2 separate regions of the Homo sapiens genome follow, and region 2 is linked to region 1. The links are contacts of gene promoters, found by promoter capture Hi-C in human tissues and cell types (Jung and others, 2019). All regions are on one chromosome and are shown on one strand. Each heading gives the region's core, a stretch centred on a gene start or on the middle of the fragment in contact. The rest is flanking DNA. Distances are from core to core; before and after follow the strand shown.

Region 1 (5,113 bases), core at 940-3,439:
TTGGGCCTGGGATTGAACTTCTATTCTTTTCTTTTTTTTGAGATGGCCTTTCGCTCTTGTCACCCAGGCTGGAGTGCAGTGGCACGATCTCCACTCACTGCAATCTCTGCCTCCTGGGTTCAAGCAAGCCTCCTGCCTCAGCCTCCCAAGAAGCTGGGACTACAGGTGTGCACCACCACATCCGGCTAATTTTTGTATTTTTAGTGGAGACAGGGTTTCACCATGTTGGCCAGGCTGGTCTCAAACTCCTGACCTCAGGTGATCCACCCGCCTCAGCCTCCCAAAGTGCTGGGATTACAGGCGTGAGCCATTGTGCCTGGCCTGTTTCTTCCTCTTTTTTTATTTTTTTCTGATCTTTGATATTATTGTATGAAGATGTGATGCCAGAGTTGCTGCAGCTATCTTGTGACCTGAAGAGAAGTGGTCAATAGACTGAAGATGGCAGAGAAAAGACAGAAGGAACCTGAGTCCTTCTCGAAGCTACTGAGCTGTTAAATTATCCAAACTGGGCTGGGCACGGTGGCTTACACCTGTAATCCCAGAACTTTGGGAGGCCGAGGCAGGTAGATCTTTTGAGGTCAGAAGTTCGAGACCTGCCTGGCCAACATACAGAAACCCCGTCTCTACTAAAAATACAAAAATTAGCTGGGCATGGTGATGGGTGCCTGTAATCCCAGCTACTTGGGAGGCTGAGCAGGAGAATGGCTTGAACCTGGGAGGTGGAGGTTGCAGTGAGCTGAGATTGAGCCACTGCACTCCAGCCTGGGCAACAGAGCGAGACTCCGTCTCAAAACGAAAACAAAAACATACAAACAAAACCAAAGCAAAACGGCTGGATGCTTGTCATCCTTGTTTACTGCTAAATCCTCAGCAGATTCTCAGTAAGTGCTGAGTGAATGAATGAATGAATGAATGAATTTAATTTCTTAGGAGGATCAGAAAACGAGGTCAGACAGGTCAGGAGAGATGAGAGTTATGAAGGGTTATGGGGTTGGACTATATCATGTGGGTGATGGGGAGTCCCTCGGAATGGAGAGACTCCCTCAGGGCAAGGACGGTGTCTTCCTTCTTAAATTGGCAGCCTCTTCCCTCTGGACCTCCCCGTAAAGCCCAGGAGGAGGCGGAAGCCACAGGGGATGTATGGGTACAGAAGAAACAAGTCCCGACTCCTTCCTGGGCATGCAGGACGGCGCTGTGTTCCACAGGCCGCTTGAGTGTTCCTGGCTTTTGCCCAGCACTAACCCACCAAGCTGTACAAGAACATAATCTTCTGTTCTTCGTAGATGTTCATGGGGTTCACCAGGAGCTGAAAGAGACCTAAGGGCACAAGGTCAAGCCAAAGGCCAAAAGATGGGTCCTAGCCCTGGTCCAGCCTCTGCCCACCCCGAACTTTCTGCTTCCACACTCACCTATGGCCAGGAGCCCCCCAGCGCCTGCCCCCAGCAGGAGAGCAGTGACAGGAAACTCGCCCGGCTGGCGCCACAGGAACCAGCTACAGGAGACTGGCAGCCCCCAGGTCAGGAGCCTCTGCACCGCTAAGAGGGGGACAGGGTAGCTCAACAGCCCACTCTTCTGCCTGGGATGGGGCTCATTAGGATTCAGGGCTTGCAGGTGGATAGAGGCTGGGGAAACCTGGCATGTGAAACAGTAGGAACTTAGGGGACCCTGGAGGAGGATGAGGGAGCCTGAGGAAGTGGTATGGGTGTAAGGGACAGCAAAGGCAAGGGCTGGGCTGGGAGGCGGGAGGCACTAGACCAGAGAGGTGGTGGAGGCGCGGACACCGAGTTGGGGGATAGTGTGCAGGAGTTCCAGGAGGAGAGATGGGATGAGAGTGGAGGTCAAGGGATACTGGGTCTCTGCTGAGTGACTCACTGGTATGAGGCTGTTTTCTTCTTTGCCCTCTTGTGCCATTCTGATGATGTTTAATGTCCATGAGTCTGTTTTGGGGAAGCACCACTCATCCCAGGTCTCCTGAAGGACCTCCTTGGACACAAGGTTCTGGTGAGAGAAGAGAGGTGCTGCCTGTCTCTTCCGCTTCATGGGAAGCCTAGGCCTGAGCTCTGGGCCTTTTAATCCTTCTGCTCCGAGAAGTGGGGAAGGAGATTAGAGACCTACCTATCCCCTCTCCAGTCCTCGGAACTGGGTCAAGGATTCCAAGACATATGCAGTGAAAGCCCTTTGGAACCTTAGAATACGGTGAGAAATTCCAGGAGCACAGAAGTCAGCGGGCATCTCCTGGAGACAGGCAGACATTTGGTCTCAGCAGCCATGCCCAAAGTCATGAAGGATGTTGTGCACCCCTTGGGGGGAGAGGAGCCTAGCATGGCGAGAGCTGTGGTTCGCAGCGTGGGAGGTTTTACCCTGGGCTTGTCTTTAGCCACGGCCTACGGGCTTCTGGAGCTACTGGTGGAAGGCCACAGCCCCTGGGGTTGCCTGGTGGGCACCCTCACTTTGGCTGCCTTCCTTAGCCTGGGCATGGGATTCTCTCGCCAGGTCCGAGCCACTGTCCTCCTGCTGCTGCCTCAGGCCTTCTCCAGTGAGCTTGGCACCCAGGGCTAGGGGGCAGGTCCTGGGGCTGGTGCTGGGGCAGAAGAGATGCTGGAGGAGAGGCAGGGGTTAAGGGAAATATTCTGAAGGCTTATGTAAGGGACTTGCTGCCATGTTTGGGGCTGGGGTCTTGGTTCTAACAAAGCTGTCGCCCCCAGGGCAGGGCCGGACACTACTGTTGGTGGCTGCTTTTGGGTTGGTGCTTCAAGGGCCTTGTGCCAACACTCTACGCAACTTCACCCGGGCCAGCGAGGCTGTAGCCTGTGGGGCAGAGCTGGCCCTGAACCAGACCGCCGAAGTGCTACAGAGGGCCAAGCAACCTCTTGTCAGTAAGTCCCCCACCTCTACCACTGTCTCCCACGGGCCCCCCTCGCCCCCCTCATCCTGCATGTTCTACAGTCCTTTGGCCTCCTTCTCTGCTGGTGCTAATCGCGGAGCATCTGGGCCTGGAAGGGACTCTGGGCACAGCTAAACCCTCTCTCCTTGCTCTCTGGCCTCCTCCACTCCCAGATTAACGATCTCCCAGGCCCCAGAATCCAGGCTTCCCGCCTCTGGAAATGGTGGCCTCCTCTCTACTCCCTGCTTAAGGGGCAATGGTGAGAACCAGCCCCTAGAGGAGAAGACTCCAAAGTGCCTCTGTCCCTCACCCATCAGGTGCCCTGAACAAGATTAAAGCTATTGCCCGGAAGACCAAAGAGGTGGCTGACCGGGTCCGCAAGTTCTTTCGGTCAATCATGGATGGTGTGAAACACATAGGTAAGCACATTAGCATGTCTATCCCGGGGACTCAAAATGCACCCAGTCCTGGCCGGGTGCGGTGGCTCATGCCTGTAATCCCAGCACTTTGCGAGGCCGAGGTGGGAGAATCACTTGAGCCCAGGAGTTTGAGACCAGCCTTGGCAACATGGCGAGACCCTGTCTCTATAAAAAATAAAAAAATAGAAAATAAATAAAACTAGCCAGATGTAATGACACATGTCTGTAGTCCCAGCTACTGGGGAGGCTATGGTGGAAGGATCTCTTGAACCCAGGGGTTTGAGGCTGCAGTGAGCTATGATCGTGCCACTGTACTCCAATCCAGCCTGGGTGACAGTGTGAGACTCCATCTCTAAAGAAAAAAAAAAGCGGGGGGGCCAGGTGCGGTGGCTCACACCTGTAATCCCAGCACTTTGGGAGGCTGAGGCGGTGGATCAGGAGGTCAGGAGATCAAGACCATCCTGGCTGACATCGTGAAACCCCGTCTCTACTAAAAATACAAAAAGTTAGCCGGGCGTGGTGGCACGCAGCTGTAGTCCCAGCTACTCAGGAGGCTGAGGCAGGAGAATCTCTTGAACCCAGGAGGCGGAGGTTGCAATGAGCCGAGATCACTCCACTGCACTCTAGCCTGGGCAACAAGAGCGAAACTCCATCTCAAAACAAAACAAAACAAAACAAACAAACAGAAACAAAAAAATTCAGTCTCCTCACCTGTACCCTGTCCAGGGTTTTTTGGGCCCCTTCTGGGCGCTGGCTAGTGTTCACTGGACACAGCACAGCCAGGTCCCTGACCACAGGCCTCTCCAGCCCTGGATACTGTGGTATTGTTCCCCAAAACCCTGAGAAGAGGCTGTAGGATTCCAGCCCTGGGTGCCAACCCTGCAGCTGTCCCCAGCCAGGGCTCTCCGGAATGTGTGGCAGTGGCTCCTGCACATCGGCGATGTGTGCAACTCGGAACTGGGCAACCCTTACCTGAAGTGTGCACGGGTTTTCGATGATGCCAAGGACAGCTGCATGATGGTCATACCACAAGCCTACCACCTGTGTTACGTGCTCATGCCCTTCAAACTGGCGCTCTGTGGACTTGCCAGCCGTGAGAAAACCAGGGTCTGCCAGCGGGGAGGAGCCGATGTGGGGTGGGGTGGGGTGGGAATGTGGGGGTCAGTTGGGAGGGCAGGCTCAGGAGGACGATTAGAGGGCAACAGAGAGGAACCAATAAGCTTGGTAGGACCAGTATTGGGGGTGGGGGTGGGCAGTAGGGAGGGACTGGTGTTGGGAGAGAAGGGCGACAGGGAGGTGCTACAAGGTTTTGAGCAAATGTGGAGGCCAATAGGAAAATCGAAAAGAGGCCCTGTGAGAAGAGGTCTCCAGAGGTCGGGGGCAGGCCTGGCTGTGCCCCTCCTTCCGACACTCAGCCGACTCCGCCCCTCAGTGGTCCAGGTGTTCTGCGTCATCCCTAAGTACATTCAACCCTTCTTGCGCCAGACCATCGGCACCCGTGAGTGACCCCCTCCTGCCACATATGGTGCTCCCTAGTGGTCTCCCTCCCTCATCCCGGTGTGGCCATGGCCAGCCCCCAGTGCTCCCAGCCCATAAAGGAGAATGTAAGAGAAAGAAAGGGGCTCAAGTGATCACCCAGGCCCATATCCATGCTGTACAGATCAGGAAACGGGTCCAGCGAAGGGCCAGTGCCTCACCACAGCCTGCCCTGAGAGCAGGAGCTGGGAACAGAACCAGGGCCTCCTGTCCACATTCAGGTCCACACTCAGGTCATCAAGATCATTCCTTAGGGGCATCTGTTGCATGCCCT
Region 2 (5,191 bases), core at 1,665-4,164, 550 kb after region 1:
GTGCCTGGATTACAGGCATGAGCCACTGCACCCGGCCAAGTCTTTGGTCTTAAAGTGATTCCATGACACTTTGTTTGTGGCCTGTCCCTTGTTTCCTTGCTAAGTAGTTCTACAATAAGAAATCATGATTTAGCTGTTGCCTCCAGCTCTGGGGTAGGGTGTTCTTTTTATGGTGTGACCCTCAGGAAGGTTAAGTCAGGAGTTCAGGAGCATCAGAGTTCTCTAGAAATGTGCCTACTTGTTACCTGGAATACCTGGTCTCTAAACAAACCAACAAAAAATCCACGTGGCTTTTCCACATGATGGTGCAGACTGGAAGAGGATGTTATATTGGACTCGTTATTGGGGAAATGAATGAGCGGGAGAAAATGTGAATGACGGGCAAGAAGGTGGTCTTTCTCCCTCAGAAGTCCTAATTCAGCTCTGGAGTTCATGGAAATCCGCAACTTCAGAGTGTGGCCTAAGGATTATTTTGTTGGTCAGCCTTTCCAAGAAAGTGTGTGTTCTCTCAATCTCTGTGGATTTTCTCATTTTTTAGCAAATCAGTGAGATAAGCATAAATAGGAAGGAAGATACCCCAGGTTTAAGAATCACCAATATCATTAGGCATTGGCATCATTATTAGAATTCTGAATTATAGAATAAAAGGTACAACAAAAATTTCATTTCTGAATTTTAAAATTCTGGAAATTTGCAAAGCTCCACAACTGTTTTTTTACTGAATTAATTACATAGAACTTCGATGTCTTTTGTTTCATCATCATTGGGCATTTTAGTTGCTATGGAATAATTTTTAATTTTTGTCTCTAAAATTAGATTTGCTTTGTAGTAAATTTTTTAAAAATGCAACCCTAAGATCTGATTATATGAACTGGGTCTCTAAAGCCTACAAAGATTCTCTCGTTCTGTACCAAGCAGACTGCCTTGTACTATACAGAAGTGTTTGAAAAGACCTAGAGGTTTTCTCTTAAATACCATTACTTAAGATTCATAGTATTAGGATCTTTATGATTTATCATGAGCTTATATCACCAGTTTATTTACTGTGAAAAAAACCATGGGAATGGCATACTGTGAGAAGAGTACTATGGTGAATGGCTCCAGAATTAAAATTCAGCAGATGTGTCTGTATTCTGGGGTTGGTCATTTGGGTCTCAAAACTGCCCCATATGCAAATGTACTGACTGTCATCAATGAAAAGTTAACCTTTGTAGCTTATAAATACACACAAAATGTTGATTTGGTTAATTTTTTAGGAAAGTATACCTTTGTAGTTACTAGTTACATTTGACTGTAAGATTTAGAGGTTAGTAAATTTTTGCTTCTTTATTCAGATAAGATCTCAGCCAAAAGGTTGTGTGATCTTTGATTTTAAAAATTTAAGAGGAACTTTTCCTCACTGGAACACAATGATTTTATTAATAAAGAATGTAGGCTGGGTGCGGTGGCTCATGCACGTAATCCCAACAATTTGGGAGGCTGAGGCAGGCAGATCACGTGAGGTCAGGAGTTTGAGACCAGCCTGGCCAACATGGTGAAACCCTGTCTGTAGTAAAAATACAAAAATTAGCTGGGCACGGTGGCGGGCACCTGTAGTTCCAGCTGCTTGGGAGGCTGAGGCACGAGAATCACTTGAGCCCAGGAGGTGGAGGTTGCAGTGAGCCAAGATTATGTCACTGCACTCCATCCTGGGTGACAAGAGCGAAACTCCATCTCAAAAAAAAAAAAAAAAAAAAGCCTGGCCTGGTGGTGGATGCCTGTGGTTCCAGCTATTCGGGAGGCTGAGGTAGGTGGATCACCTCTGCTCAGGTCAAGGCTGCAGCGAGCCATGATCGCACCATTGCACTCCAGCCTGAGTGACAGAGTGAGACCCTGTCTCAACAAGCAAGCAAACAAAAAACCAAAAGGAATGTTTTTTTCAGATACTGATAGAATGTTTTCAGTGTGTATTGGTTCATTTACTATATCTTTAGTGTAAGATTTTAAAAGGTTTTTTCAGCATCCATTCAACAAATATTTATTATCTTTATACAAATTATTCATTGTGTTAAACTTATTTTTAGTTTAACATTCTAGAAATGAAACGTTTTTACTTAACCTTATTCTACAAAGGGAATACAGCAGTTATTCTAATTTTAATAAATGCTAAAAGCTTTATACAATTTTTCTTTGTGCACTAAATGATTTTTGGCCCATACCCAGCAACTGTGATGAATGTATAATGAAATAACATCTTGAAAACAGGCCAGATACATTAAGTATTTATTGAGCTTCTGTCATATGCCCAGTATTATGCTTCTTCTATACTGTTTCTCTGTGACAAGTCATACTATATTCTTTATAGAATTAAAAGTAGAGGAGAGGCAGAGTTTACATATTGTCCAGTTGCTTTACAGTTGTACAGGAGGTTATAAGAAGAAATATAGTAAATTAGTGGGAAGTCAGAGGTGGGGGCGTTAGTGAGCTATTTTCTTCTTGAGGTTGTGACACAAGCTGACAAAAGCCAGGGAGTTCACAGCTGTGTGGTGGCACAAAGTTCCATATGTTCTAAAAACAATTAGGCCCAGCAGGGTGTCCCTAATGGCTTCCTTGTTAAACCTCCATGGCCAGCTGATCTGAAGCTCTGTGACATGTTCTCTGAGCTCTGAATGCTCTGGCTTTTTGTCATTTTGTCTTGAGACAAGTATTTTCCTGTAGTCCTCATTCCTTCGAGTTATTCCATCTCCCAGGATATTCTCTGGTGAGAAGAATGTCTTTCAGTGAATTTGCCTTGAATTTAGCATCCATAGAGCTGTGTCAGTGTTCTTCTTGATCACACCTTCTTTAAAAAAAATACTTGCTTGCGATGACTGGACAAGTTCAGTTGGTTAGTTTCAGGCCTATAAGAAGAGAGAGTAAAGGACCTTGCTATTTACTTTGATACCATAGTTGTATCTCAGGATGGCCTGCAAACCACTGGCCTTGTGTGTATTTAAGCTAGGAATAAAATAATGGAGAAGTGTTAATATGTATACAAAAAGGTAAATATTGATATATCTACTCTCTGTTGGGGGCAGAAGTGTCATTTTAAGTTATTCAAAGCACTTTCTTAAGCATTTTAGAAAGCCTTTATTCTTTGCTGTTGGAAGTCTCCGTACTTTGCAGAATTGGTATTTGTGTACTAGCCTCTGCCGCAGGATGGGGAGGTGGGCAGGTAGCTGATAGGGGCAGCCAGGAGTTTTTGAGGCAGGTGGTGGGAAATTGTCCTAATTTGTTAATTGGATTATGTAACTCTGTTACTAGTCTGTTATTGGCTGTTGTTACTGGATGCATCTTGATATTCAGAAGAATAACTGTGAGGCATTCTTCAGTTGCGGGTTAAGTGGGGTTAGTTTCTGTTCTGTCAGATGCCCTTTTTCAGTCAAAGGTTAGCCCCTTGTTTCTCCCTCCTTCCAGGGTTTAGGGAGTGCAGTGATGTCGATTTCATTTCCCTTCCCCGCACCCCTTGACACTCAGCAGGATTGCACTGAAACCCTTCACAGATCTCTCGTTCACTAGTTGTCTCCTATTTTTCCATAACTAGCACTAGTTTGGCCTTATGACCTGGTTAGAATCACTCTTCTGTATTCTCATTTCCAATTTTTGTGCCCCACTAACGTGGACTAGAGAAACTTGGCCTGCTGTGCAGTGGGCCTTCTGTTCAACTTACCCTCCACCGCTGACCCTGTGTGAAGAGAGATGGTGCGTTACTGCCATCTAATGGGAAAAGAGAAAACTGCAGTTGGGAAAAGCAGCTGTGCATTTAAGGGTAGGGCTTTCTGAAGGATTTCTGATACAGTCCAGAAAAGGGAAAATGATGACACAGCAGTTGCCATCTTGAAAAATGCCCTTTCCTGCGGAAAGGGTGTTTTGAAGTCTAATACAACTATCATCACAAGGTCCCTGGACTAAGGCTGGATCGTGTAATTTAGAATCTCAAATTGTATTTTAATTAATATGCTGGCAACAGAATCATTGAAACAGGCGTCTCATTTTGTCAAGTTCTTAGCCGTTCAGTTTGTCAGGGGCTTTAATATTTTAGATATCAACTAATACATAGTTTCAACTTTTAAAAATGTTTGAAGATTGTATGTAATATAGGTGTCTATCTATAGTGCCTTAGTAATTTAAATCAGAAATATTTTATAAAACTTCTGGTTGTTTTGCAGTAGCCAATATAGGCTTCATGCCCTCCTGAAGATAGTTTCCTCTGAAATGTAACTTTAAATAAACATTATTCCAAGAAAACTACAGTGGTTTTGCTTAATTCAGTTAGCTCTGAGAATCATCTTCCTTCAGAAAAATACTTCCCATGGTAAGAGCTACAGCAGAGTTTCATTTGCAGTCACCATTAATGAAATATAGAAACACCATGATGGAACATAACCAGCAGATTCTATCTTTTATTTACTCTGTTCACATTTAGAGTCCTTCTATTATGTTTTTCTTCCCAAGTAAAATAGTAATACAGTGATGTTTTACTGCCATTTCCTGGCCCATCTCTTCCTGAGTCGAAAGTTAGTGCACTGGTTCTCATCCCTCACTAGATAGAAGATTTGGGCTCTGCTTCTGTTTTTATCAGTTTGTTATTAATACAAATGTCCCATGCCATCTGTGGGATGCCCTAAGTCTGTTGCAAAGTTCAAAAACCTATTTTAAAAAAAAATTGTACCAGGTGATTTGGATACACAGCCAATGGTGGAGAAGCCCTGTTGGAAGCTCCTATTTGGAAATGCACAAATAAATTCACGTCAGGTCCTAGAAGGGCATACTGTTGAGTCTGCTATCAAAAAGTTTTCCCCTCCAAAATTCCTAACATGGTTTCAAGTTTTTAACTTCCATTAAACATTTATGTAAGTTGCCACCAGGTGGAACAAGTGCCTATTGTTTTAACCCATCTGTGTTTAAGAGAAGAGGAAGTTTGCATTAAGAAATGCTCCCGCCACCCACCACCCGAGCAATTAGAGTAATGGTTTTCAGAATTCAGATTGAACACGTGTTTACAAGCACCCAGGGTTTGAGTGTTGAATGTTGGATTCTGACCCTGTGAAAGGCCAAGATGTAAGTAGTGAGAATAGACTCTTTTTCCGCACCAGGTGTGCTGCTGAACAAATGCTTTTCATCATACAGCATCTCATTTAATCTGCCACAACTCAGCCAGGTGGGAACCTTG

The links. Contacts are between HindIII fragments. The study calls those that stand out against the background at their distance.
Region 2: a contact is called between a fragment that was not itself captured here and the fragment with the promoter of DCST2 in region 1, in 3 of the 25 tissues and cell types used here (dorsolateral prefrontal cortex, lymphoblastoid cells and spleen).

The regions. Positions count from the first base shown.
Region 1 is chr1:155,030,857-155,035,969 of GRCh38, reverse strand. DCST2 (DC-STAMP domain containing 2) reads left to right here and starts at 2,189. Exons shown (of 15, transcript NM_144622.3): 1 at 2,189-2,536; 2 at 2,706-2,876; 3 at 3,202-3,303; 4 at 4,199-4,396; 5 at 4,736-4,801. The coding sequence starts at 2,269. DCST1 (DC-STAMP domain containing 1) reads right to left here and starts at 2,146. Exons shown (of 17, transcript NM_152494.4): 1 at 2,116-2,146; 2 at 1,873-1,998; 3 at 1,410-1,535; 4 at 1,243-1,317. The coding sequence starts at 1,933. The HindIII fragment of the contact is 8,066 bases long and covers 1-5,113 here.
Region 2 is chr1:154,478,556-154,483,746 of GRCh38, reverse strand. SHE (Src homology 2 domain containing E) reads left to right here. Exons shown (of 6, transcript NM_001010846.3): 6 at 1-4,266. Among named protein-coding and RNA genes, the nearest start is that of TDRD10, 21 kb to the left of the region's middle. The HindIII fragment of the contact is 4,086 bases long and covers 872-4,957 here.